4 separate regions of the Homo sapiens genome follow, and all the other regions are linked to region 3. The links are contacts of gene promoters, found by promoter capture Hi-C in blood cells and fetal thymus (Javierre and others, 2016). All regions are on one chromosome and are shown on one strand. Each heading gives the region's core, a stretch centred on a gene start or on the middle of the fragment in contact. The rest is flanking DNA. Distances are from core to core; before and after follow the strand shown. Region 1 overlaps CACNA1C (calcium voltage-gated channel subunit alpha1 C). Region 2 overlaps CACNA1C (calcium voltage-gated channel subunit alpha1 C). Region 3 holds the start of CACNA1C-AS4 (CACNA1C antisense RNA 4). Region 4 holds the start of CACNA1C-AS1 (CACNA1C antisense RNA 1).

Region 1 (5,109 bases), core at 1,126-3,625, 380 kb after region 3:
CTGCTGGGCATGCCCCGCCCCCCAACCCACCCACTCACGGCAGATGTCTGGTGCTCTCAGCTGGCCTAAGGACTCAAGCATTTGGAGAGGCAGTCGGGATGTGTGCTCCCAACCCGACAGCATCAGGAAAGGACCCTGCAGGCCCAAAGCCATGGACTTGGGATGTGGAACAGTGCGAAATTAGAGTGGGATGGTGGGGCCCACTTGAAAGGGCTTTGAATGGAGGACTAAAGAGCCTGGCTTGGCCTGGCAGGTGCAAGGAGCCACCCAGCAGTCCTGGGCTGCGAGAGTCTTGGGTGGTTGTGTGCATGGTAGCAGAACTCTTTTCTTGGCACCATAGCGCCGTCTTTGTCCTTCCTGTTCCCCATGGATGGTGCTTGGGACTTGCCCAAGGGATGCTGTGGGAGGAAGGGGTGGTGTGAGGGGTCTCTGGGCTAGGGCTAGGGCCACTCACACTGGTGTTCCTTTGTCCCTCCCTGCAGATGACTGCTTATGGGGCTTTCTTGCACAAGGGTTCTTTCTGCCGGAACTACTTCAACATCCTGGACCTGCTGGTGGTCAGCGTGTCCCTCATCTCCTTTGGCATCCAGTGAGTGGGAGCCCCTCAGCCCACGATGGGCCATGCAGCTAGCAAGGGGTGCCAGAGAGGACAACCAGACCCTGGAGGGCCTGCCTGCAGGGCCACCGCAGTGTGATGAGAGTGGGGTGGGGCCTCCAAAGCTGTGCATGGTGGCTTTGGGTTCTTGGTTCTGTGTCCTCAGTGGTCTGATACTTGGGGCACGTTGATCAGGTGAGAATATGTTTAATTATCTGGGTTTTGCCATGACAGGCAGGGCCAGGCTCAGCTATTAAGAAACGGTTGTCTCCAGGACCTTCCTGCCTCCTCCACCACGGCCCCAGTGCCCTAGGCTGACCTTCAGCAACCCACAGTCTGCCACTGCCGTGACCTCCCCTGACCTGGACCCTCCTTCTCCCTTTCTCTCCCCTCTCTCTCCAGCCAAAGCACCTCATGTATGAGTGTATGTGTGAATGTGTGTATATATATGTCTGTGTAAGTGTGGGGTGTATGTGTGCACGTGTGTGGATGTGTGGGGTGTGTGTATATGTGGATGTGTGTTTGTGGCTGTGTGTATGTGTGTGTATGTATGTGTTTGTGTTTGTGTCTGCATATGTGTCTATGGACGTGAATGTATATGTGTATGTATGTGCATATGTATGTGTGAGTGCATGTATGTGTGTGACTGTGTATATTTGTGTCTTGTGTGTGTGTGTGTGTGTGTGTGTGTGTGTGTGTGTGTGAGTTTTTCATTTCACTGGTCTGGGGTACAGTCTGGGTGTGAGTTCTAAGAGCTTTCCAGGTGACTCCCCTGTACAGCCAAGCTTGCAGTCCTCGTTCAGGTGTGGAGGATCTGATTACCAGTTTCTACCAAGTTCTAACAGCTGATAGTGTGAATCCTACACTTTAACTTTCAAAGCACTTCCACATACACATTCTTCTGTGGTCCTCACACACACAAAACGATGGGGGAGACGGGGCAAGTGTTATCATGATTGTATAGATGGGAAATTTGGAGTTCAGGACATCATGACACTTGCTCAAGGTCACACCTGTGGTAGAGAAAGGCCTAAGTCCCAGCGTTCCTGGGTCTCTCCTCCCAAGAGTGTTTTCATGGTTGGCTGAGATCATGCAGGGACCAGGACCTTGGGAGAGACCCTTTTCTGTGATCATCAGTTATATTACCCCATATTTTCTGCCTGGGAGCCTACAAGTCCAGATTTGAATCCCAGCATGGCCACTCAGTCACTATTTAACCTTGAATGAGGAATTCCTCCTCTTTAGCCTGTGTTTTTCCCATCTGACCTTTAAATCCCTTCCATTGTGATTCGGTGCAAACTGACTCCCTCCCAGAGAGACTGTAGGAGAGACACAGTGATAGATAGGAATGGCCTTTGCATCTCTTGGAATAAAAGAGTCATGCACCAGAGAAATCGGATCTTTCCACCAGCCCCTTGAGCACATCATCCTGACCACACAAAGCATGAAATCAGCGCTTGCTGGCCTGTCATTCATTGTTTAGGTCCCAAGACAAGTATGAGGCTCTCCAAAAGCTTGAGAGGCTATCTCAGGTAGTTAGCCCGTGAGGGTTAGGATGTGCTCCATAGCTGCTCACCAAGGTGGTATGGTTAATGAGCCCCACCTGGGTAGGATGGACAGCTCCAAAAACCATCCAGGCATCTTGCTTAGGGACCTGTCTCCTGCTGTCTCCATTGCACTAGGGAAAAGCCGTAGCCCGAGACTCCGAGAAGCTCTGGCTTGGCCTCAGCATCCCAGGTGTATGGAACCTGTAGTGCCACGTAGGAGCCAAAGGGACTGGCCTTCTGAAGGGTCACTGAAAAATCAACTGACAAAAGAAAGGTTAATTGGAGACAAAGCATTCACATTTATTTAACGTGTATACACAGAGCCTATAGAATGCAGACCCAAAGATACAGGGGAAACTGACCATTTTTCTGCTTAGGTTCAAAAAAGTATGGACAGCCATGTAGAAATGTGATTGGACAAGAAGCGTAGGATCTAACGTGAATGGACCGAGTGGGGAACCCAGCAAGGCCTGTCTCTAGGTTCTTCTTGTGCTCTCTGTGAAGCTTTCCCTCCTTCTGGGTCGGGGCAGGATCCCGTCTGCAACAGGAGTCTGAGGATCTACACTCCCACATGGTGGATCTGGTCATTTTTTATGGCCAGTTTTTATACAGAAAAGGAGAGGGAAATTTTGAATAATATTTTAGGTTGTGTGGCTGGCTTTGAGGAAACGGGGTTCTGGGTTCTGGTTTCTGTGACCCATCTTGGGGAAGAGGGATTCTAGTGTCTATGGCTAGCCTGAGAGGAGAAGGGGACTGAGACAGGAGGGCAAGAGAAGGTCAGAGAAAAACTTTTGCTTCTGAGACTGCTTCTAAGGCCGTCGTTTCGGGGTGTTGTTTCCTGAGCCCCAACAGCGAAGCCCATCCTTCCTTGGAGTCCTGAGTGTGCTCTGGGTGGGTTTTATGTTTAGGTGTCAGGGGCAATATGTGTTTGGAGATAAACACTAAGAAATCTCCTCCCCATGACATCACCTCCAGCCACAAGGCCCGAGATCCCACCGTTAGTACGGCATTCCTTTAAGTGTAGTAACGTCTTCAGCAGGCCTCATGAGCAGGTACCATTCAGGCAGTTTCTCAAGCACATGGCTGGGTGATTTACATAGAATTCTTATTTAACCCTTGCAAAGACCTTCTGAGCTGATTACAGACCCATTTTACAGATAAAGAAACTAGAGCTCAGAAAATTTAGGAAATTTGTCCTCAGTGCCTTGGCTAGCAAGTGCCTGCACTGGGGTCTGAATTCCCATGGCCTTGCTCTGAATTTCTTTCTGTGACACTGTGAATGCCCCTGTGAGTAGCACAGTACATTGCTAATGACCTGCCATGAGCCACCTTGCATATTATTTAGTCACCCACAGGAAAGCCCCAGGGTTACAGGCAAGCTCCAGGCTCTCACGGGATGGGAGACAGGAGTAGAGAGTGGTCCCAGAATGCGAACATCCCCAAGATGGGCTTTATGTTTTCTCAGGTTTGCCTCGGATTCACCTGTCAGGACATTCCCTTACCACATTATTTTTGCTCCCCCCAGAAACAGGAGGAGCTTACTACCCTGCCTGTTTCCCTCTCCCAGGTCCAGTGCAATCAATGTCGTGAAGATCTTGCGAGTCCTGCGAGTACTCAGGCCCCTGAGGGCCATCAACAGGGCCAAGGGGCTAAAGGTGAGTTGAGGGCTTGGGTAGGGAGTCTCCAGCCAGCCCATTGGGGAGTGGGAGCTCCACAGAGGTGAGGGGTGGGTTGGAAGGAGATGATGGTCAGACCAAGTGGCTGCCATGTGGGGTCCCGGACACTGGTCCCACTGCATGTCCCGGTTCCGTAATGAACAGAATAGTAACAGAGGCAGCCATCCCAAGTGTCTGCCCTAAGCAGAATGTGCCAAAGGGAGATCCCACACAAACCCTGTGCCCCTGTGGTGCCACCATCCCTATATTCCTTCCACTGTAAGATGGGAGGTTGGCAGGACTTTTGTCCTTGTAGTCACGGAGAGTCCAGTGGGGGCCTTTGCATCCCATTAGGGTCCATCACTTCCCATGTGACTTTGGGAGCGTGGCTTTGCCCCTCTCAGCCCAATTACTCCCCGTTGTGGCAAACGGGCTGCCCCTGCTACCTCCTGGAAAGGCTCCTGGCATCTCCTGAAGCCACGTCCCTCTCCCCGTCCCTTCCCACTGCAGCATGTGGTTCAGTGTGTGTTTGTCGCCATCCGGACCATCGGGAACATCGTGATTGTCACCACCCTGCTGCAGTTCATGTTTGCCTGCATCGGGGTCCAGCTCTTCAAGGTAAAGTCTGGGCTCCGTTGTGGTCCTCCTACCTCCCCTCCCATCAGCATTCCTGGGGAAGGGAACTGGCAGATATAGTACAAACGAGACAGTGTCCTGAGCCAGACTTGGCTTGGATATAACCTCCACCTGCAGCCCGACTCAACCTTCAGACCAGGGTAGGGAGGCGCTAGAAGGAGGCATCGGGCCACCAGGCCAGAGGCCCCTCACCCTCTCCACTTCACCTGCCCTTGAGGTCACTGCCCTTCCTTCTAGAAAGAGAGAGAGAGGGACTTTCATCCTGTGGAACCTCTGTGTCAGTCAGTTGCTTAAAGCCTGCAGCGGTGACCTATTATCAACAGCATCACGTCCCCACTGCACCACCCAGCTTTCAGAGCCCTGCACCTGTCAAAGTCAGCTCCTGCTGCTTCCTGCAGCACCCCTCGTGTCCTCCTTGGATTCTGGTCTTTTTTGCCCTCACCCTTTTAGTTCTGCTATTCTCCCACCTAGAGCATTCGCCCCCGCTCCCCTCCACTGTGTAAACGCCCATCTAATTCATCCCTCTGAGCCCAGCTCCACTTCTCCCTCCCTGGCGAGACCTCCCCGGAGAGTACAGCTCCCATGGACCCGAGCTCCTGTTTTTGCATTGCAGTGCTACTTGCAGCACTGGCGTCTGTATTCGCCACCGTTCTGTGCGTGTGAGTCAGGTCCTGCC
Region 2 (5,471 bases), core at 2,816-5,315, 360 kb after region 3:
AGGACAGCAAGGGGCAGAGTGCTGACCTCCCTCCTGTTGGCTCTCAGGTACTGGAACTCCTTGAGCAACCTGGTGGCATCCTTGCTGAACTCTGTGCGCTCCATCGCCTCCCTGCTCCTTCTCCTCTTCCTCTTCATCATCATCTTCTCCCTCCTGGGGATGCAGCTCTTTGGAGGAAAGTTCAACTTTGATGAGATGCAGACCCGGAGGAGCACATTCGATAACTTCCCCCAGTCCCTCCTCACTGTGTTTCAGGTATGGACTCTTCTCTGCTGGGATTCGGACTCGGGGTGGTTGAGTGGCGGGGTGGTGGGAGGAGTGTGGGAAGCTGCACCCTTTTACCGGGCAGCCACAGCCATCCTAGATCAGCCCTGGAGAGCCCATGCCCGGGAGAGTCTTGAGTTTTTTCTGTAGTTTCCCTGTCCCCATCTGCCATGGAATTCCACTAGTGGGTGGACCATTAGGGGAAACAATATAAGTGGTTTAAAAATGCCTTCTCAGGAGAATCTCTTGAACCCAGGAGGCAGAGGTTGCAGTGAGCCAAGATTGCACCACTGCACACTCTAGCCTAGGTGACGGAGCAAGACTCCGTCTCAAATAAAAAAAAAAAAAATCGTTCTTATCCATGGAATCCTTTACTTAAATTCTCCATGAAAGCCCAAAACATAAAGAAAAGCAGACTGCTCTTACTGGGGGAGGGGAGGGTGACGAAACCCTGGCTTTCCTACCATGCTTGTCTCTTGAAAAAAATATTACTAGCCCATCAAATTTGTGATTTCATAGATATTTTGGCTTAGGGCAAACTCAAAGTGGCATCTATTTAAGTTTAAAAGCAGATCGATTGAGAGGTAAAAATGAATCACATGTAGATGTTGTCAAAGTCTTGAAGATGATGCCCCAGTGACGAATGTTTGGGGAAAGCTGGTGTAGCCTGTGGCTGTCTCAGCAAACACACAACTGCAAAAGGGTCCTGACGCCTTACCCCCAGGAATGGCTGACGGTCAGCTCAAGCATGTGTGGGGAAAGTCAGAGATCTTTGGGCCAAAAAGCCCTTTTAGTCACCCTTCAAATAATATTATGCCAATAGCCAGGCATTTTGTCTAAGGACAGTTCAATAGCTCAGAGCCCCTGGGGAGGAGAATTGGGGGCCAGGAGGAGGGAAAGAAGTGAAAGGGAAATTTTGGACAATTTTGTTGACGTAGTGGGGCAGGGCAGGGTGGTTTTGGGTTTGCTGTTGGTCTAACGCTGTGTCCCTTATTGGTGGGAATGTGTCATTCAGATCCTGACCGGGGAGGACTGGAATTCGGTGATGTATGATGGGATCATGGCTTATGGCGGCCCCTCTTTTCCAGGGATGTTAGTCTGTATTTACTTCATCATCCTCTTCATCTGTGGAAACTGTATCCTTTGCTGCTGCCCCCCACCCCTGCGGCCCCCAGCCCCCAGCCTGCAGCACAGTGCCAAACGGGCACGCCCCTCAGGTCCGGGCGGTCCTGCTCGGGCTCACACCACCCAGCCTAGAACCCCATGGCGGCGGAGGTGGGTCTGGGTGGAAACCTGCAGCTTTGGCATGGGTGAGGTTCACCTTCCTGAACCCTCCGGGCCCGCAGCGGCGCCGCGCTCCGGGCGGGCTGTCGCCGTAATCTGGGTGAGCGGCGCCCCCTGGCGTTGCGGCGTGTGCGGCCACTCACACCGCCTGCGATAGGGACGCGCGGGAGCGGGCCGGCTGCCCTGGGGCCGCGGCGTCTGCTCAGAGGCGGGACGCTCCGGGAGGGAGGATGAGCCGTTGTCCTTCAAGTGACCTTCAGCTCTCCTCCTGCTTTTTGGTCAGCAGCCCTCTCTCTGATGCTGCTCTCCAGGACTTTAGTCACGGGCAGAGCTGCACAGACTTCAAACAGCCCCAAAAGCTCCTTCCTGATCCCGGCTGGGGCAGGTTTCCAGGGCACAAGCCACGGGTGCTGCTTCTCTTCCCCAGCTCATAACCCCGAGAGAGTCACGTCCAGAGCCAGGGGTAACATAGGAACAGCTCTGGGCCAAGTCCCAGCTAAGGCAGTGCAGAAAACACAGTCATGGAAGCCTGCAGACAAGGTTTCCTCTTTTCCCAGCTGGATGACCTCTTGCAGATTGAAGGTCCTCTACCTCAGTGTCTGTAAAATGTGGCAATGGAATCATAGAACCTACTACATAAAGGGTCGTTGGGAGTTTTCATGGGATCATGCATGCAAGGCCTCTGCCACATTCAGAAGCCACCCTGGACAAAGCCCCTCTTCCCCAGCCTGGGTTGCTGCGGCTTCCCTGTGTGTGAAATGATATGAATGTCTGGGTGCCTGGGGCCGGGGGTCAGACTTCACAGACTTAAAGCCCCCTTCCAGCTATGCTTTCGTTGATTCTGCAGTTCTCTGACCCACAGTGTTTCTGTTGGTGGAGTGGGGAGGAGAAAGGGCAAAGAACTGTCTCCACTGGGAACTCCCAAGCCTTGGCTGGCTCCAGATGGACCCTCCAAGGGTCTTCGTGGGTGCAGGCTCACATTAAGAGTTGGCAGAGATACCAAGCCACCCCCTCAGCGCCCAGTTATAATAAACCGCTCTTAAGAGCGTTCTGCATCCTGCTAGAGACAATGCTGTTTATAATGTCAATTACAGCCAGTCATCTCAGCAGGGAAAGCAATCATGAAACCCAGCAATTAAAGTGCAAGGCAGGGCTTGCTGCCTCCCTCCCGCCTGCTCCAGTGTGCAGGCTAGCCTGTTCTCATCCCTCTTGATAGCTCCAGGTAGCTAGGAGGGTGATGGGGAGGAAGGGGAGGGGAGGAACACTGTTGGGGTCTGACTCCCTCAAATTGCTTCCCCCTCAAGCTCTCTCTGCTGAGGAGCTCTACCCTGCACGCCCCACATCCCCCGTGCCCCTGTGCCCACCAAAACCCCAAACCAAGGGTCATTTTCTTTAAGAATGGACACAAACAGATATCCTACTGAATGTGTTCTTGGCCATTGCTGTGGACAACCTGGCTGATGCTGAGAGCCTCACATCTGCCCAAAAGGAGGAGGAAGAGGAGAAGGAGAGAAAGAAGCTGGCCAGGTAACCCTCTAAGCTTGCCCAGGCCTGGGGCTCCAGGGCTCCCATTGTGGAATGTCTTCCCACTGGTGGCAGAGAGAGGCTTGACTGCTAGCCTCTGTTGGCTCTCCCTCCTAGGAGGACTCTGGGTTTGGGGCTTCCTAAGTTGGGCCTCTCTCCTAATTCCTAAGCATCACTCTGGTAGGGACCATCATGAATTATAATAATCTCTGCAATGGTGTCATATTCTCCACCTGCTGGGATTATCTTTTGAGAAGCTGTGATAGGTGGCAGGAGTGTAGGGTGGGGAGAGAGAAAGGTAACCACTCAGTTGGGAAACGCAGCTCCAGCTTACAGAGGGAGTCCTCCTCACTACTTTATAATTCATCTCCAGTGTTAGGAAGGCAAGACGGGGCCCTATGTTGTATCCTATCATTATCTAGACGGGACAGTTCCAGGCCACACAGCTGCCGGGCACTGAGCAGAGCTCCTCCAGGAGCCAATCCTAGATGAGATCCACCATCCTTTTCTGCTTTGGCGACCCAGGCATCTCTGGAGCTGCAAGAGGCCAATTGCGTGTCAGGCAGAGCAGGTGTAGCTCAGCCCCATAGCACTTGTGACTGAGCTGCACACGAGAAGCGTCCTGGAGAAAGGAAGATGGACTCAGACCCAGGGGATCTGTCCCCTCTGGCCCCAACAGGCCACAGGGCGGTTCCCTCCTACACTGTTCCCTATCACTCCAGTAAACAGCCATTTATTTTTTTCTGCTGCTGACTGGCCAGGACTGCCAGCCCAGAGAAGAAACAAGAGTTGGTGGAGAAGCCGGCAGTGGGGGAATCCAAGGAGGAGAAGATTGAGCTGAAATCCATCACGGCTGACGGAGAGTCTCCACCCGCCACCAAGGTGAGGAGCTGTCTCCTTCCTGGAGCTGTGAGGCCGGTGCTGGGGAGGGAGGGCCACAGCCTTCCCAGGCCAGAACCCTGTGGAGAAGAGGAGAGAAAGAAAGACACCCAGTGGAAAGAAAGCCAGTGGGGATGAACAGGAGAGCTGGGAGGGGGAAGATAAGGCAGATTGGCTGGATCCCAGCCATCTGCTGATGTCTTGAAGGAGATATGCAAAGTGACAAGTACCTATTTTTGAGCTAAGTCACTGACTAAAATGCAACTTCAAGGCTACTGCAAGCCTCTTAACTTGGGGACGTATCTAACTATTCTTCCCCCTTCTCCCCTGTGACTGTCTAGATCAACATGGATGACCTCCAGCCCAATGAAAATGAGGATAAGAGCCCCTACCCCAACCCAGAAACTACAGGTACCAGTCCCACTGCCTAACCTGGGATTGGGAGATTGGGGGCAGAGATCTAAATTCTAAAGCCACGTGGGAGTGGCCATATATTAGGGACCATGGTTCCAGTGTCCCTCTGTAAGTACCTTCCACTGCTGAGTGTCTTCTATCTCTATATTTAAGCATCATCAGTCAGCATCTGGGAGGCAGGTTTGTTTCTGGTTTCCTCATAATGAGATCACATTTGAGCAGTGCTTTTGTGTCCTTTCCAAGTTGGATTCAGTGTACATTTAAATTTTTGTTACATTACATGTTGTAAAATCATCATTAATTTATATAATGTATTAGTATGGCATATGTTGCAACATTATGCTCACTTAATATTAATAGTCAATCCCAAGTCTGCCTTGCCCCTACTCAGGAGGCAGTGCCGAGTGCAGGGACAGCTGCCACCACAGATGTCCCACTTGTTGCTTTAGGCAATGATTTCAGGTCTCATTATAAAAGGCGCGCTTACTGACTCCATCTTTTTATGCTTCTATCTGATACCTAAATTGGCAGGCAGTCTGCTTCTCAAGAGCTTTAATGTCAGAGATCAGAGGTCCTCCCTCCAGGCTTCACTTCCCTGCTCCCTGAAATCCCATACCCTGTGCAAGGCCTGGGCTTGCCTTCCTCTGACCTAGGATTGCAGATATTATCGCCAGTTTCAAGCTTGAAGTCAATAACATGCTATCAAGGGACTGTTGATTTTACTGACATTTCCTTGTTCCTGTAGGTTAGGCTATATTTGGGTTGTTCACCAAGTTAGGTGGCTGAGAACCTCCTACATTTATGAGCAAAGCTCGGTTTCCCTTTTTGCTTTCCCTCCGCTGGTTCTCTGCTTAGAACACTCACAGGCATCCTTGGGAACCAGACTCCCTGTGGTCACACCATCCTCACTCCCCTCCTCCTGCAAGGGAATAGGATGTGGTTTCCTGGAGCTTGGATAGAAAGAACAGGAAGGGCGTTTTCATATGCCCGGCATTAAGGCTTTGAAGTTCTTAAAACCCCTTCTAGGGTGAAACCGTTAGGGAATTTCAACGACGTACTAGAATTATTGAACAAATGCAATGGGAGGATCTTGCCTTGATCCTGAA
Region 3 (5,461 bases), core at 1,379-3,878:
CTCTGTGCATATGAGGGCAAGAAGAGAAGAGAGAGAAAATTTAAGATGTAAGCAAATAAATGAGAGAGCTTCATATTATGGTAGGTGCTATGAAAAAGAAATCAAAGAGAAACAAGCAGAGTTTTGTGGTAACATGACTGTGGGTGGGGGTTACTTTAAGCTGTTGGTCAGGGAGGTCCCCTCTGGGACCTGGAAGACAAGAAGGAGCTAGGCTTGCAAAGAAAGAGAGGAAGAGCCTTCCGGGGGATGGCATAGCAAGTACAAAGGCCCAGAGGCAGGACAACCTTGGCATGTGTCAGAAACAGAAGAGCAAGGCTGGCACACAGTGAATGACCAGGCGGGTGCAGGTGAACTGGTCAAAGGGTTGGCGGTGTGGGGAGAGGGAGTGCTAGATCATGACTGGTAGGGAGGGTGACGTGTCTTTTTTATTTTTAGAATACCATCATTCTGCCTGTGGATTAGAAAAGGGAGTTGGGAGGGAATGAGAAACTGGTTGGGAGGCCAGTTGGGTAGGAGAATAGAGGCTGGGACCAGGTGCCAGCAGTGGAGGTGAGATGAATGGACAGAATTTGGCCAGTGGGATGAATGCAAGTGCCTGGGAGGCAGAGTTGCCAGGGCCTGCTGGGCAGTTGGGCAAGGAGGCCTCAAAGGATGCCAGGCAGTTTGTTCAGAATAAACATCAACAGTGAAAGTCTTGTCAAGAGTGTTGGGAAGTTGGACATTTTTAGATACAGCTGATGGCAGTGCAGAAGTTCCACTCACCTTGGAGGGTCATTTGACAAAATGTTCAAAGGCTTCAAAATGCTCATTTCTTTTGGTTCAGCAAGTCCATAGGATTTTATCCTACAGAAACAGTCAGAAATACACAAGGATTACTTACAAGTGTGTTCATTGTAGTCTTATTTGTAATGGAGCTAAACCTGGGATAATTTCTCTCCTCTATTAATCACCAGAGGGCTGGGTAACTAAGTTAGGATGCGTCCATATGATGGAACACCATGTAGCCATTCAAATGATAACCTAGAAGGACAGTTAATGGCACATAAAGATGTTCAACTGCACTGCTAAATGAACAAACATAGAAAGTTATCTACAATATGATCCCAAATTTTATAAGATATATAACCTCTATTTACATCTCATATGAGTGTAGACAGGATATACTATACCCTGGAAGGTATAATAGGTATACATTAGAGTGTTAATGATAAGCCAATTCAGGGAACAAAATTACAAATTATTTTATTTCATTCTCTATTTATGATTCTTCTAAATTTTCTAACATAAACATTTGAAATAAAAACTTAAAAAAAGCCCTGTTATTTGAAAAAACTTGTGATGTCTTACCATGTCCAAGTATAAACTGAAAAGTGAATAAATCAGTGGGCTGGTGGCCCTTCTTAATACACTGCCATACATAGGACAACCATTTGTATTCAGAAAGTTTGTGTTGAGTAAGTCACTGGATTTGAGTCAGAAGACTTGGAGTTGGAGTCCCAGCTCAGCCATTCACTGGCTTTGTGATCTTGAACACGACGCTTAACCTCTAATGCACAGACTCTTGGCTGCTTCAATTTGCAGTGGGAATGAATGGTGATAACAAGAACAAGAATAATGCTTTCACGGAGTTGTGAGGATTCAGTGATAGGGAATTAGAAAATATTTTGTAAGAGGAAAACCACAATGTAAATATTAATATTTCAGGGCCCAAGTCTTTGACATGGACGTGACTATGGGCACCAATAGATTTTTGGATGGATCATTTATGGTACCCTGTCGTGCCCTTTAGTACACCTTTGCCTGGTGTACATCTCATGCAACCAAATGGCCAGCTCACGTCTGATCCCAAGCCCTGAATTAAGTGAGCAATCTGAACATGAGGGACAATGAGTTGTCCTGAGTGGCAGGCGGCTCTCAAGTGAGGAGTGCTTTCTCATTCACTGGAAAACTGTAAGTGAAATGCTGCTTCAGCAGCCACACCCAGAGCCCCTTTGATACATGGTTCAGCTGTTCTGTTACATAAACCTATTGGAAATGAACCTGCAAAGGAGTTGAGCAGAGGGAGGTGCCCATTGGAATAAGGACAAAGGAGAAATGCACTACCTCTCCATTTAAAGGAGACATTTGCTTTTTAATGGACCCTAAACACTGGGATCTGAAATGTCACAATCTTTACATACTGGAATGGACACGCACATAAATGCTGATGAACAGCTCAGCAGGCACTTAATTTTTAAATCCTTGATTGTTCAAGGACAGGGATATCCTACTTGGCTCTGCAAGACTCATAGCATACTGGACAATGTTGTCTGCATCGGAATGTCTTACTGGGGAGTCACACCTCCAAAAAGAAGCTGTGTGGTGAATGGGTCCAAACATAAGGGTTTGAGCCCCTGTTTTCAGCTGGGATTTTTGGGTAAAGGGAGATGAAGCAGCCAGGTCTAACCAACTGCAGAGGTTTATTTCTTGGGGACTCCCAGCTCCATTGAGGTGTAGAAAATATAGCACATACCAGTTACCAACAAGGATACCTGTTCCTGGATGGAACTGCCTGGTTGGAAAGAATGCTGGTGGTCAGTAGTGCCTTCTGATCCTAAGAAGAGGACCCTAACCTGGCCATTTTGAATAAGGGCCCCATAGCTGCTGATTAAGTGTGTCAATAGTGGGTTCCTTGTGATGTAACATTCATCGTCCTTCCTGTGGTGGATGACCCTACAGACCCACCTGCTGATAAGCTAAGCTGCTTGCTTAAGGCCATAAAGCTACAGAGGTATTAATCTAGAGTTTGAATCGGATCTCTCTGACTCTAAGACTCCTGCTCTGAAGTCCTCCATTATCCTTCCTCTTATAGAGTTGTTTTGCCAGTGCTATTGGATTTGAATTCAATTGTACCCTACGTACATTAGAATGAAAATGTTATACATCGTAGAAAATGAATAAATCATGGTTCCATCCCTCAAGAAACTTATATGTATTATTATTTAAGAGTTTGAAGTGCATAGCAAGAGCTCAATAAATAATTATTGAGTAAATGATAATACACAAATATATTCTAGTTTATTTATAGATATCCATAACCCCAATCAGATTATGATGCATCTCATAAAAGGTGCACACACAAAATCCCATCGGAGTTTAAAGACGGGAGAGAATACCTCTGGAGAAATCAGGAAAATAAAAGTTGGATGTATCATTTGAGATGGGTCTTAAAGACCTGTAAACACTCTGACAGGTAGAGATGGTGAGGCTTGGTTCCCACCCTGAACCTCCTGCCTGCTGATTGGTTCCTGCAGTAGACCCTAGGTGCCCTGGTTTGTTTCTGCTTTGTAATTCCACTTCTTAATGATATCAACAACTGGGAGCTGGGAAATGAAGTTTTTATTCTGATAAACCTGACTTGCCACAAGAGGCCTACAAGAGAAAGTATGATTTCTGGTCTCCTCTCCACCGTCTCCGATATGCAAACGAGTCACACATCTGTATCTTCATTCTAGAGCTCTCTTTTGAACTGCTAATCCCCCTGGCGGAGCCTCTGATCCTGGTTATCCAGCATTCTTCTAGATTTAAGGTTGAAACATGATTTAAGGTCATGAATGCATGACCTTCCCAGACTCCCTTGTACATGAGCTCCCACATTCCCAGCCCCTGTTCTGCTCCACCCCTTGTGGTGATAGCCAGGGTGGTCAGCTGCATTGCATGTTAGTAGTAAGGGAAGAATGGGGTGGTGGGTCCAGAGTTGTGTGTTATAAGATGACTTTGGAGGTCAGGCTGTTGTTTTGGCTCACTTTGGGATTTTGGGGAGTAGCTTACTTTGCCATCAATTTCCTGATGAAGAAAAGGCAACTTAGCATTCTTCGTATAAGTAAACAGGTCAGTGTTGGAGATAATTACATCATGAAGCACCGTGGGTCCCAGAGGTGGGAGGCCTCATGTAAGTACTACTGTGCTATTGCCATCATTGTCTGGAGGGGATGATAATGTCGTATTTGCTTGCAAAATGGTTTTCTGATGTTGGGTTGAAAGAGACGGTTATGTACCTTAGCCAACTGTTAGGGCTGTTTTTCTTCTAGCACAATTTATAAAGTGATTTTTGTCACACCCAAATTTTTGCAGGACCGCAGAACTCAGACATTTAAGGTTGTGGCTTTTCAGAATGGATGAATAAACGTTCGCACTCTAAACTTAAGAGTGTGAAGGCTTGTCAAGGCTCCATTTCTGGTTTGCTTTCTGATCTCATGCAAGTCACTTCACCTCTCTGCTTTTTGTTTTTCCATCTGTGAGACATTGCTCACTTTGCCAGGATATCTTCAATATGAAGAAGATAATGTGTGGAACGCTGTCAGCTGCTGCATCATTAAAAAGCATTTATTCAGCACTTATGTAGCATTGCACAAAGAGAATTATAAAGACTAGATCCCTGCCTTGTCTGCTAGGTTATATTCTAATATCTTCTTAAAAAGGCAGAAACTAGGCAACTAAAGAGAGCAATAATTCAAATGTTATCTTTTAAGCTACACAAATAACAGTAGCATAAATAATTAACAAGCACCAATACGCAAAGAAATCAGTTATCAAGAATACACAGAAATAGTTATCAAAAATACATAGATAAAATTATCAGAAATTTCTCAACTTTCTGGAGCCAAGTCATGCAAGAACCTGGTTTTATGTAAATGAAATTGCGATACTGCCCCCTGGAACCTGAGCAAGAAGAAGATCCTAGTGGGCGGAGTGGGGAGGGAAAGTGTTCTGGAGAGTTTTACTTGGGATTCTGGTATTTGGGTTTCTGTCACTGTCTCTTCTCCCTCCAAAGTCAACTAATACTCAGACATTAAGGCTTAAGACCCTGTTAAGGGGAAAGGTCTATGCTTTAGAGAGGATGCTGTAGAGTGGTAGGCAACCATCATTCCTCTTGTGAATATTGTGGTCATTGCATTATGGGCCTTCATTGAATTATGAACCATCATGAGGATGAGATCCAAACCAAGCTGGATGGAAACCACATGGATGAGGCCCCAGAGAGTGAGGACGCCATACAAATGTAATCACTGAGCTGTCTGAATCATCTTGAGAAAATTCTACAAGTCTGTATACATCTGACTTCCCCATCAGTTACACACTTTGAAAGGAAAGCTCTAGGGAGAAGAGTACCATTTGCTTCCCCAATGCTAGGAGAGGAAGGTGATGAGACCGAGATTACTAACTAAATTATTTCCTGTGACTTCTTAGAAAAGCTGAACTCCCAAGGTATGCCGCTTGGATATGGGGACGCGCACACACACACACACACACACACACACACACACACACACACACACACAGTTTTCTTCATACAGGGGTAGTAAAACCTGTCAGGAAATTAATTAAATTAGCTATTATTTGTGTTTCTCTTATAGTTTACAGCATCCTTTCACTGATTTGATCTCATTTGACATAAAAAGACTAGCTGTCAAGGTAGGTG
Region 4 (5,161 bases), core at 331-2,830, 470 kb after region 3:
TGAGCCCCCCATCATCAGACATAGCCAAGCAGAGACTGTGCTCATCCGGGCGTCAGGCTGTGGTGCAGGAGGTGGGGCGTTAAACCAGGTGGCTTCCAAGGTTTACCTCTCAAAGTCTGGTATTCCTGTGGCCTCGATCATCCTGCATTCATTTCACAGACCTTCCCTGAGCGCCTACCATGTGCAGGCCCTGTTCTAGGTACAGGGACACAGCTGAGAAACAGAGCTTCTGCTCTCATGAGCTCACATCATGGTGAGGAGAGACAGATAATAAACACATACATATATAACACATCAGGAAGGTCAGGAGTGCCAAAGAAAAACTAAGCAGGGCAAGGAGAGAATGAGTGGCGTGGGCAAGGAGCAAGACAAACAGATGCCTGAAAGGAGCGAGTGCCAGGCTGCACTCAGCTTCCCCCGACCCGCTGGCTCAGGAGCCGATTTTCCCATAGCCAGGCACTAAGCAGCCGGTAGGGAGGACAGAGAAGCTTAAGGGTCACCTGCTGGCCCTTCCCAGCAGAAGCAAGGCAGGGGCATGCGCCGTGTTTGCACAGATACCTCACCCCTGGAAAGGCAGCAGCAGGCAATGGGCAGTGGGCCTGTCTCAGCAGTTTCACCAGGGAGAATGGTTTCTCTGAAAGAATAGTATAAAGGTTCAGTGGGTGTCAGAAAGGAGAGAGGCAGGCTGGGATCTGCTGATACAGCATCAGGGCAACCCCCCGGCCCCTCTGAGAGCCAAACCTTCTCTGGTTTTTGTTTTGGTTGTTTTTTGAGACAGGGTCTCGCTCTGTCACCCAGGCTGGAGTGTAGTGGTACAATCACAGCTCAGTGCAGCCTGGCGCTGCTGGGGTCAAATGATCCTCCCACCTCAGTCTCTGGCCTTGCTAAGATCACAGGTGTGCATCACCACACCCAGCTAATTATTCTTAAATTTTTTGTAGAGACGAAGTTTCCCTGTGTTGCCTGGGCCTGGTCTCGAACTCCTGGGCTCAAGCAGTCCTTCTGCCTGGGCTTCCCAAAGTGCTGGGTGACAGGTGTGAGCCACCGTGCTGGGCCATAAGCAAGTCTTCATATATTTGATGACAGTGTTTGACCACCCCAGCCAAAACTTCTCTGGCCTGCACATCCCTAATTCTGGCAGATGCTCCATCTCCACTTGTTCCCCATGGGTGCCCCTCCCAACACACACACGTACACGTGCACACACGCACACTTCCCCAAGTGACCTACCAGATACCCCCTCGCTCTAGCCCTCAAGGGAAGAGCTGGGCTCCAGGAGTAATGTTCCTTTGGTTCTTCATGGCTCCCACCCCGCTCCTTCAGGTCTTGATTTCAGAAGGACTGGGGCAGTTTGCTCAAGATCCCAAGTTCATCGAGGTCACCACCCAGGAGCTGGCCGACGCCTGCGACATGACCATAGAGGAGATGGAGAGCGCGGCCGACAACATCCTCAGCGGGGGCGCCCCACAGAGCCCCAATGGCGCCCTCTTACCCTTTGTGAACTGCAGGGACGCGGGGCAGGACCGAGCCGGGGGCGAAGAGGACGCGGGCTGTGTGCGCGCGCGGGGTCGACCGAGTGAGGAGGAGCTCCAGGACAGCAGGGTCTACGTCAGCAGCCTGTAGTGGGCGCTGCCAGATGCGGGCTTTTTTTTATTTGTTTCAATGTTCCTAATGGGTTCGTTTCAGAAGTGCCTCACTGTTCTCGTGACCTGGAGTTAACCGGAACAGCGTCTTCATTCATTTCTGTTGGGACCAGACGCGGAGCCTGGGTGCGCGAGCCGCCCTCCGGGAGGAAGGCGCCCGGCTGCGTCTGCAGAGGCGGGGAGAGGAGGCGGCGAGGGTCCCGGGGCGCGAGGAAGGCGCCTGCCCTCTCCCAGCTCGCAGGCCCCGGGCCCGGCCGCGCCTCCGCGGGGAGAGCACCCCGGCTTCCCGCGCGCCCTCACCAAAAGGACCCTACAGCAAACGGGTGTCTTTCGACTCTGCTTGTAGAAACCATTTGCACATATTCTGTACGAGCCTCGCTGTCTCCCTAGAGCCAGGGCCCTGCGGATTTGGAGAAGGGAGCGGGGCAGGACTTCCAGGAGGACCCCAACCCGGCCCGGAGAGGGAGGAGGAGGCCTCCAGGGGCGCGGAGCTCTGGGGATGGGCGTCGGGCCGGCAGTGGTGCGGCTCACTCCGTCCCTGCCCACCTGCGACGGGATCCCCCGACCGGCACGGGCCACGCCGAGCTCCCGGCCAGCCGCCGGCCCGCAGGCAGCGCGAGGGAGGAGCTGCGCCGCCGGCTCCGCCCAACCAGGTGGTGCTGAGCTTCCGCTGAGCGCTCTTTTGTTTTGTGGTTTGACACTTTTCTTGACAGCATGTTGCAGTTTCTTTTCGGTTTTGGTTTTTTTTAAATGTTTTATTTTGCTTTCCCAGCGGGAGGGGAGGAAGAAGAGTGTTTACAAAGTCCTGTAGCCCCCTCACCTTTCTGTTTTCACTTTTGCCAATGTACATCGGGTTTGGTTTTCTTGTATTATTTAAACGGTTGTGGTTTCCTTTTTCCACGGAGGTTCAATAGAAGCCGCTGCAGGAGAGTTTTACCAACCATTGTGTATGCCCAATAATTTGTTATCATTTCCTTAGGTAGTAACCTATTTTTGTTCTGGTTTGGTTCGGTTATCTAATGGAAAGGTAACTGGCAATGCACTTGATGTGGTCTTGCACATGTGGGTGATAGAGTTGGGTTCCTTTTTATGCTGGGTGTACAGGTGGGTTTGGGAGAGAGGAGCATGCGCGAGAGAGTCTCCGAGTGTGTGCGACGCGTGTGTGTGTGGTGGGTTGTCTGTGTGCATATGTCCTGCCCGTGTATATGCACCCACACCATGTGCCCGTGCACACCAGTGACTACGCAGTCCCCCCTTTCTGGTTTAGCTGTGGGAAGATCTGAATCTGGGGCCGTTTGAAAGCAAAAACAAACCACTGTCTCTGCTTCTGAAACGGGAATCAGTAACTCTTTGCATTTTCTGTCCCACAAGATATGCAAAAACAATGCAATAATATTCATTTAAAAATACAATTGTGAGTTGTGTTGGCATTAAAACTGTATTTTAAAAAAAGACAGAAATTTAAGGGAAAAACACAAGAAGGCATTTTGCTTCAATATATTCCGTGTAATGTTTTATTGCATTGATAATGTTTCTGTTGAAGAAACCGTTATACTTGAATTCAGGTCAGTTTCAGTATTTTTCAAATATTTTTTTAAAACTGAATTGCAATTGTGCCAAGCGAATATAATGAATTGAATTAAGTTGGTTTTCGGATTCACTTCTTGTATATTTTGCTGCATGTAAAGTAAATCATTTTGTATTTGGAGTGTGACAAGCTTTACCTTTGAACTCAAGTGCTTTTCTATATGTGGTTGGGGGAAAGGGAACAAGTTTTCTTTAGTTTGCACAATGAGCAAAGGTATCACCAGTGTAGTCATTATTCTGCTCTCCACAAACAGGTTTGGACATTACTGTTTTGCATATCTTGTGTTTGCTTACATTTCCCTCAATTTTTCCAAAATCGTTTGCTGGGTATGTTTGTACCGCCTCTTGCTGTGAGAGACCAGGACCTATTTTATTCCAGTCTTCACTCTGTCCACTCTGCTCTGGTCATCTGATTTGGTACTTCTCCAAGAACAGCCCTTCACTGTGAGGTGCAGGGAGGCGTTCTGATGAGCCCTCAGTCACTGGGCCGTCATCCGCATCCCCCATGGAAGAGGTAGCTGGCTTTCCCTTCCCTTCCACCACACGGAATTTTCTCTTTGGCTTCCTTAGGAAAGTGTACACTAACCGGGAGGATAAAATTAAAGTCAGGCTGCTTGGAGGGAGGGGCATCCTCACTTCCGGATTCTTGTTGCTCTACCCAACAAGGACAGCAGGGGCTCGAGAAAGGAACTGGTGAAACCCTGATCCATCTGAAAGTCAACTCTGCGTGCTCCTTTCTCCATCCCTTCCTCACTCTGGAGCAGCCTTTCCTTCAGGCTTGCCCTAATGTTTGGGCTGCCGGGGAGGGGGCCAGGACAAGGGAAGAGGCATCCGGAGCTCACAGTGGGGGTGGGAACAGATTTTTGTGGGGGCATCTCTAATGCTCACTTATATCTCCCTAGAACATCACTCTTTTGGTGCTGTGTCCTTCAAATGTATGTCAACAGTGGTGGCTGAAAAGGGACTGCTTTGGGGAAAACAGGACCCAACCATTCACCCAGAATTGACCCATTAAATCTCTTCCAGTCCTAGTGTTCCCTGAGCCCCTCTTGGCACATATATAAGTAAGCTAGAAATTACAATAAGGGACAGTCCATTCCTCTATGACAGCTTGCTGGACTGATTCATGACAAAGTGGAGAAATGTACTCAATACTCCCCGGTTAACACAGTCTAGAAACAGAGTTTCTTTATGGATATCCACACCCAAGTCATCCAAACTTTCTTGATTCCTTTTCACTGCCATCAAGGTCCTCTAGAAATTGAGTTTAGGTATCATCCTTTGAAAAGTTCCCAAGATTTCTACCAGGAGGTACACACAGGCGTTCCCTGTCTAGGGCAGGAGGACTATCCTAGCTTGACCTTCTGATCCACTAGAATAAGACTGGCGTATGATGCCTGTCATCAGAACAGACTGGCACAAGTAGTGACATCAATGAACCACAGCACAATCTTCCAAGTGATGTCTACTCTCCACCTAAAATGGAATTTTCCCCATGACCTTGTAAAACATAATTGTCACATCTTCCATACCCCTCCTGACAGCCCCCAAGTGTCAGGAGAAAACAGTCAGGGGCTAAGGGCCCAAGGGACTTGAAGAAACAACAGTTTAAGGTCTGCAGTTTGGTCAACTTAATTCTTGTCCTCCGACCAGCCCTGCCTCTTTCATTTCCAGACCTTGGAGAATTTTTCCCAGCTTTGATTCAGAAGGTACTAGTTATAACCCCTTTCCTTCTTCTTAATCCAATAGGCCTCACTCTCACTGGGAAATCCACTCAAAGGAACAAGGCAATGTCTCTCATTCTATTTCCCAGTTCCAAATTCCAGGTGCTTGTCTGGAGTGAAGCTACCCGTTACTTTCTCCCAGCTTTTCTCCACCCAGCATGTCTCCTGCCCATGCAGCTGAAGACAGTGGGGCAACCTCAGGAGAAG

What was found. Contacts are between HindIII fragments. The CHiCAGO score rates a contact against its expected background, and 5 or more counts as called.
Region 1: a fragment that was not itself captured here is called in contact with the fragment with the promoter of CACNA1C-AS4 in region 3 in 1 of 17 cell types (monocytes); the score reaches 6.5 in monocytes.
Region 2: a contact is called between a fragment that was not itself captured here and the fragment with the promoter of CACNA1C-AS4 in region 3, in 3 of 17 cell types (megakaryocytes, monocytes and M2 macrophages). The highest score is 6.2, in megakaryocytes.
Region 4: the fragment with the promoter of CACNA1C-AS1 here is called in contact with the fragment with the promoter of CACNA1C-AS4 in region 3 in 2 of 17 cell types (M0 macrophages and M2 macrophages); the score reaches 6.2 in M0 macrophages.

What each region holds. Positions count from the first base shown.
Region 1 is chr12:2,601,372-2,606,480 of GRCh38, forward strand. It overlaps CACNA1C (calcium voltage-gated channel subunit alpha1 C), which reads left to right. Exons shown (of 47, transcript NM_000719.7): 22 at 483-589; 23 at 3,710-3,797; 24 at 4,308-4,415. Among named protein-coding and RNA genes, the nearest start is that of CACNA1C-AS2, 68 kb to the right of the region's middle. The HindIII fragment of the contact is 537 bases long and covers 2,108-2,644 here.
Region 2 is chr12:2,581,543-2,587,013 of GRCh38, forward strand. CACNA1C (calcium voltage-gated channel subunit alpha1 C) reads left to right here. Exons shown (of 47, transcript NM_000719.7): 14 at 48-255; 15 at 1,280-1,400; 16 at 2,961-3,075; 17 at 3,834-3,954; 18 at 4,293-4,362. Among named protein-coding and RNA genes, the nearest start is that of CACNA1C-AS2, 88 kb to the right of the region's middle. The HindIII fragment of the contact is 1,958 bases long and covers 3,087-5,044 here.
Region 3 is chr12:2,220,853-2,226,313 of GRCh38, forward strand. CACNA1C-AS4 (CACNA1C antisense RNA 4) reads right to left here and starts at 2,629. Exons shown (of 4, transcript NR_046578.1): 1 at 2,513-2,629; 2 at 1,348-1,568; 3 at 763-843; 4 at 1-2. All of the region lies in intron 3 of CACNA1C (calcium voltage-gated channel subunit alpha1 C), which reads left to right. The HindIII fragment of the contact is 15,222 bases long and covers 1-5,461 here.
Region 4 is chr12:2,689,577-2,694,737 of GRCh38, forward strand. It overlaps CACNA1C-AS1 (CACNA1C antisense RNA 1), which reads right to left and starts at 1,581. Exons shown (of 4, transcript NR_045725.1): 1 at 1,493-1,581; 2 at 1,231-1,403; 3 at 564-634. CACNA1C (calcium voltage-gated channel subunit alpha1 C) reads left to right here. Exons shown (of 47, transcript NM_000719.7): 47 at 1,324-5,161. The coding sequence ends at 1,623. RefSeq lists a silencer at 2,041-2,310. The HindIII fragment of the contact is 2,873 bases long and covers 487-3,359 here.